2 separate regions of the Homo sapiens genome follow, and region 2 is linked to region 1. The links are contacts of gene promoters, found by promoter capture Hi-C in blood cells and fetal thymus (Javierre and others, 2016). All regions are on one chromosome and are shown on one strand. The core of a region is centred on a gene start or on the middle of the fragment in contact, and the rest is flanking DNA. Distances in the headings are between cores, read along the strand shown.

The links. Contacts are between HindIII fragments. The CHiCAGO score rates a contact against its expected background, and 5 or more counts as called.
Region 2: a fragment that was not itself captured here is called in contact with the fragment with the promoter of DOCK11 in region 1 in 12 of 17 cell types (activated CD4 T cells, non-activated CD4 T cells, megakaryocytes and 9 more); the score reaches 12.4 in activated CD4 T cells.

What each region holds. Positions count from the first base shown.
Region 1 is chrX:118,494,135-118,497,291 of GRCh38, forward strand. It overlaps DOCK11 (dedicator of cytokinesis 11), which reads left to right and starts at 1,681. Exons shown (of 53, transcript NM_144658.4): 1 at 1,681-1,939. The coding sequence starts at 1,838. RefSeq lists enhancers at 1,019-1,088, 1,491-2,469 and silencers at 1,499-1,638, 1,749-1,828, 1,919-1,978, 2,149-2,208. The HindIII fragment of the contact is 5,195 bases long and covers 1-3,157 here.
Region 2 is chrX:118,585,669-118,588,832 of GRCh38, forward strand. DOCK11 (dedicator of cytokinesis 11) reads left to right here. Exons shown (of 53, transcript NM_144658.4): 17 at 2,469-2,653; 18 at 2,745-2,810. Among named protein-coding and RNA genes, the nearest start is that of DOCK11, 91 kb to the left of the region's middle. The HindIII fragment of the contact is 4,896 bases long and covers 1-3,164 here.

The DNA of each region.
Region 1 (3,157 bases), core at 431-2,930:
TGTGGCTCTGCCCTATATCTGAAGTAAATCTGGGCTCTCTTTGCAAGCAAAAAGTGTTATAGCTATTGTGGTGGTAACCAACAGCATGAGCCACACAGGCATTTATGGAACAGAGGGTATGAATTCTTGGAGATCAGCCTACACGCAACAATTAACAAATTTTACACGTACTGTGCAAAACTAAGATTTGTGACAGAATGTCTTTAGAGGACTTCCAGGTCCCAGGCCCTCTAGGAGCCTCCATATATGCTTTATTGAGACTGATGGGATGGCTGAAATAGGCTTACTGCGAAGAGACTTGGCCTTTTCTGGGTTCAAAGAAACCATCACCACGCATGCCCTTGTTTCCATAATAAAGTCCCCTAAAAGACTGTTTGGTCTTTGAGGGTGGGGAAAGTGCCCGATGGGTGGTGGTAGGACTGCTTTCAGAAGGGCTGCTCGGTCCCCCAGACTGAGGGCCATTTTCAAACTCTCAACAAATGAAATAACCAGATAGAAAACTGCCACCATCAGTGGAGCCTTTCACTCTGCACTTCAGGAGGTCTGACAGGGTCACTAGTACTTCAAGATTCCCGTCCCTATTTCTGTCTTAAGCATGTTCGTTTTATACCCTGTTATGAGATGTTCTTTGATTCTTGGAAAAACAATTTCTTGGAAGCTGAAAAGAGTAAGGAGATGAATAGGAAATGGAGAGGTGAGTGCAGGGCACTTGTAAAAGCTACTATAAGATTGGTAAGTCCACCAAACCCAGGGAGATGGCCTTCCTAATGCCCACCCCCACCCCACTCCTGGTGCAGTCAGTGCTGACCTAGGGATCACCTGCCACAGGCTCATCCTAATGCCCACCCCCACCCCACTCCTGGTGCAGTCAGTGCTGACCTAGGGATCACCTGCCACAGGCTCAGGCTCCACCACCCAGCTCTCCCCCGTGGGGGACGGAGCGAGGGGTGCCGCCACAATAAGTTCCCACTTCCAGAAGCATGCTCTCTCCCCAGTGTTGCCCCCTGTTAGGTGAGCCAACTGAGTAGGAAAACGGTGTGGGCGAGGAGGGGGACCCAGTCGAGCCGCTCACGCTGGAAAGCAGCTCTCTGTCCTTCGACATTGGTGCGACCCTTCCCCAAGGAGCACACAAAAGGCGGCTGCTCCACGTTGTTTTCCAGCCCCTAGCCGCCTGGGCCCTGGGGGCTTGCGGGGTGGAGGGACGTGAGAGTTCTCCAGCCCTCCTGCGGGCACTGCAGCTCGGAGGCGGGAGAGGAGCACTAGGGCGGGAGAGGAGCACGCCCCACTCTTGGAGACATTTCATCACCCCTCTCTGTTCCCCCACCCCACCCCGCCCTCCCCACTCAAGCGGAAAAAAAGAAGCAGCCCAGATCTCCCCTCCCGGATGCGGCTGCACCAGCAACATCAGCTGCGGGCGGAGCCCGAGCGGTAGCCACTTCCCCCCTCTTCCCTCGTGACCCTCGCCCCCACCTCCAGTTCTCCCTCCCCCTCTACACACCCTTCCCCATCAGACACACCCTCCTGCTTCGGCTGGTGGCGATCGGAGCTCGGGCCCTCTAGGGGAGGGAGCTGCCGCCGCCGACGCCGTGGGGCAGGACAGTGAGCGGGCGAAGCGAGCGAGAAAAGGAGGGAAGGAGGGAACGAGGGAGGAGCAGCGGGTGGGAGGTGGGAGGGAGGAGCAGCGTGAGCCGCGCCGCCGCCGAGCTGCGATGTGGCCGGCCGGCCGGCGAGTAAACAGAGGGAGCAGCAGCGGCCGCGGCCGCCGCGGGCCGGGGCAGTGAGTCCACCCGCCCGCCGAGGTCCGCCCGCCCGCCGAGACCCGCCCGCCGCCGCTGCCATGGCCGAAGTGCGCAAATTCACCAAACGGCTCAGCAAGCCTGGCACGGCGGCTGAGCTCCGGCAGAGCGTGTCTGAGGCCGTGCGGGGCTCCGTGGTGCTGGTGAGTGGCCGGGGGACGGGGCATCCCGGGGGACGCGCTCCAGGCGGGAGCGACGCGGGAAGGGGCAGGAACGGCGCCAGTGCGGCCGCTTGGTGCGCCGCGCGCTGTCTTTCTCCGCTCCAGTAAGTTTTCGCACCGGCAGCCGCCGGCCGGGGTCCGAGTCCCAGGCGCCGGCTGACAGCTCTCCGGCCGCCCGGCACGGCGGAGGCGTGCGCCGGGATGGAAGCAGACGGGCAAAAGCCGGGCTCGGACGGCTGCGGAGGAGGCGGAGGCGGAGGCTCCCACCCAGGGTCGGGGCCGGGGGTGTGAGCTAAAGAGCTGACCTCGCGCTGCTCTGGACTCGGCACAAAGAGCCGGGGACAAGGGCACGACGAGATCCTGATCCCCTCCCGCGAGCACCTGAGGCCGCCTAGGCGGAAGGATGCGATGAGCGTTTGGCACACACACTCTCGCGCGCACACATACACACACTGTGTACACAAAAAAGAACCCCACCCAGAAAGCCCCGGGCGCCCAAGCTCGGGCTGGCGGTGAGAACAGAGGAAGCAGAGCGACTTCCTCCTGCAACTGGGGAGAGAGGGTGGTGATGGGTGTTGAAGGGGTGCTGCTGCGGAGGAAGGGCATTAGAAACAACGGGGTTCTGCGACAGAGTGGGCGCAGGGTCATCCACCGCAGGGAGAGTGTGTCCCTCGGGGACACGCGAGCGCTCCAGAGGCAAGGGGACCAAGGGGACGGTGCCGTGGGGATTTGGGGGAAGACTGGGTGTGTCAGTCCAGGGATGGAGGACCTGGGGTCAGAGCCCCACAGCTCAGGACTGGGGGATGGGGATTCGAAAGCGCGCTGACTCCCTGGGAACCCTCCCAGAGCACCCTCAGCCTTATCCAGATTGTCTGACTCTGGAGAAAGGCTAAAGGGTGCTAACGGGCACTTGCCCCTTCTCTTGTTTTCAAGACACTCGTTGCCAGTTTCCTGGACAAGCGAACAAACCCTGAATAAGCAATCGGACTGATTAATTAGTGTTTGTTTTGTTACTTTGTTTTTTGGTTGTTGTTTTTGTTTGTTTTTGTCTCCCTCAGCTCCATTTTACAGCGAGTCGTTTGCTGTGTTTAAATTTCACCGTTTAAGAGAGGGCTCTTTTTGTTAAAACAACTTGTCATCGGAAGGGAACTTCACAGCTTTTCCTTGTAATTTTTCTGTTGATCTTGTAGAATCAGCAAT
Region 2 (3,164 bases), core at 342-2,841, 91 kb after region 1:
TGATTTTATCAGATGCTGTTTCATATATACGAAGTTGTGAGTGTGTCCCAGTCAGGTTCTATTGCCTTTTGCCTTTGGTAACTTTTACTTCTGTCATCAACTAAGAGATGAAAAAGGAGAAGGATTTCTTTTCTTGTCTAAGGACAAGAATCCAAGATCCCAGGAGAAAAATAGAAGACACAAAACACAATTTGCAAGAGATAAAATGAAGTAGCTAGTAAATATGTGAAAAATATTCAATCTTAGTAATAATGCCAGTAAGGCAAATTAAACAATATGCTTTTGCTCATCCATCAAATCTATTAAAATGTTTAAAGTGAAGCTACCTAATGCTGGCTAGGTTTTGGCCAGGTGGTATCACCTATCATGAGTAGGAGTACAGTTTGGTAATAGATATCCATAGATGTTCATAAGTAGGGCATTCCAATTCTGAGAGTATATGCATTCATTCACTGAATAACTATCTATTGAGTAAACGTTTATTGACTACCAACGAGGTGCTTTAAACGTAGGGAGTTTAAAGTCTAGAAGGAGTGACAGATAGTATGCAAGCAAACGAGTTGTATTACTCCGTTTTTCACACGGCTATAAAGATACTACCCAAGACTGGGTAATTTATAAAGGAGAGAGGTTTAATTGACTCACAGTTCTGTATGGCTGGGGAGGCCTCAGGAAACTTAAAATCGTGGCAGAAGGGGAAGCAGGCACGTCTTTTGTGGTGGCAGGCGAGATAAATAGTGAATGAAAGAGGAACTTCCAAACACTTATAAAACCATCAGATCTCATGAGAACTCACTCACTATCACAAGAACAGCATGGGGGAAACCGCCCCATGATACATTCACCTCCCACCAGGTCTCTCCCTCAACACCTGGGGATTACAATTCATGGTGAGATTTGGGTGGAGACACAAAGCCTAACCATATCACAAGGGCAGCTGTAAAAAGGGTAGCCAGGGAACACCTGTCTTAAGCTCAGGAACTGAAGAGGGAGAAAGAGAGCCAGCATGTGGTGATTGGGACTGAACATTTTCAGACTGAGGGCATCACATACGTTGTAAAGACCATCACATATATATGTAAAGACCTTGAGGTGAGACCAAGCTGGGTTTGCATGAACAGAAGGGAATCCAGTATAGCTCTAGTGTAGTATGTGATGGGAACAGTGGAGATAGGAGATAAAATAGGAAGCATCAGGTCATGTAAGGAATTGTGTTGACTGTGGTAATGCCTTAAAAAATTGAATTTTATTCTAAATGCAGTGAGAAGTCAATAAAGAATAGTAAATGGAGGTGTGGCATCCACTTTATATTTTAAAACATCTAAGAGTACAATGGATTATTTTTTCCTAAAGAAGCAATTTGAAATCTAGGCAGAAATGGATCCATAAAGATGTTCTTTGCAGTGTTATTTATATTGGAGGAAAATTGGAAACAATCAGAATCCAACACTGTCAGTGTGGTTAAGATAATGATGCTACACTGATACCATGAAACTTTATTGCAGCCATTAACAGCAATGTTTACAAAGAGTTCATGGAATGAGACATCAGATAAATGTCGAAAAATCAGGATAAAGTTCTATATATAGTGTAGGATTTTCATATCACTATATACAATATGCATAGAAGACTAAAAGAAGATATGCCAAAGTCTCAACAGTAGTTATCTCTGGGTGGCGGAATGAGCAACTGTCCTTGTCTACCTTCACTGTCTACCTCCAGATGCTCTGTTATAGGCATGTATCACTGTAATAATCAGAAAAGCAAATCCAACAAAAAATACAGCATCCTCAGGTCCAACTCTCCCTGGGTCTTCCTTCATCATTACTGCTCTGCAGCAAGGACCAGCAGTCTTAGAGCCCCTTAAGTATATGAATAACCTTTACTACAGTGACGATTTCAATAACATATGCTGCTAAACTTCTCTGAGGCTTAGTATTTTTTCACGGTCGGGGTATTGAGTTTATCATTGGTAACACATCGTAAGATCAAAAGGCCTCCATTATTTCTTAGGTGAAAATTTGCACCTGTACCAAGTTAGCTTTTAAAAAGTGACTTGCCATGAACTAATTGGAAGCATAAATTTACCGTTATTTCCCTGATACCAATAAAAATTTGCAGTGAAAGCTAAATTGCTGCCACAGGAGGGAAAATGAAATGGATTTCTTTGCAGAGTTTAAATTTGTCAAAATTATGATGTGTTATATTTGGCAAATCACTCGACATTGAGAACGAAATAGCACTCCACGTCTGGTATGAAGGGTTCCACTAAAATCAGCATCAGACTACTCAGTCTTGTCTTTTTGGGTTCTTAAAGTTGTCATGTGATTTTTTTGGTCAATTACTAAGAATTATGTTTTTTAAATCGCTCTTTGAGAATGCAATTCATGTATATTTTTTATACATGCAGGAATGTGTTAATGATTATTAAACTGAATGATCTTTGCCTGTTTTTTTCCCTGCTATAGATTGTATTACTTCTTCATATGTGCCCTTGAAGCCTTTTGAAAAGAATTGCCAAAATATTACTGTGGAGGTTGAAGAGTTTGTTCCAGAAATGACAAAATATTGTTATCCATTTACTATTTACAAAAACCATCTGTATGTATATCCCCTGCAATTAAAATACGATAGCCAGAAAACATTTGCCAAGGTAACCATGTAAACTATACATTTTTGGAGTATAAAATGTTATTTATAATCTGCTAATTGTGTGACTCATTTTGACTGATTAATCATTTTAGGCAAGGAACATTGCAGTCTGTGTGGAATTCCGGGATTCAGATGAAAGTGACGCTAGTGCCCTAAAGGTTTGTTTATGATATTGATAGGCATATGTTTTTAGTAGAGATGGAGATTTTGGTACTCAGTAGTCTTATGCTCTAGGTTTAATTTGTATCAACATCAAAAAGAAAATGTTCTAAAGTGACAAATGTAATACTTTCTTTTCTACTCTTACATATTAACTATAAGGCTTAGTTTAAATATTAATGCAGTAGGAGCATATATAGCTTTAAAAATGCCAGGTTTTGGCTTTTGCTCCTTTTTGATTTTGCAATTGCTTCAATGCCCAATTGCAAGGTCGTTTTCTTATGACCTGATAGTTTATAATGGTACCATCAAGGGACTATAAACTCCTTTCTCCTTGAAACCTGAACAGGCTT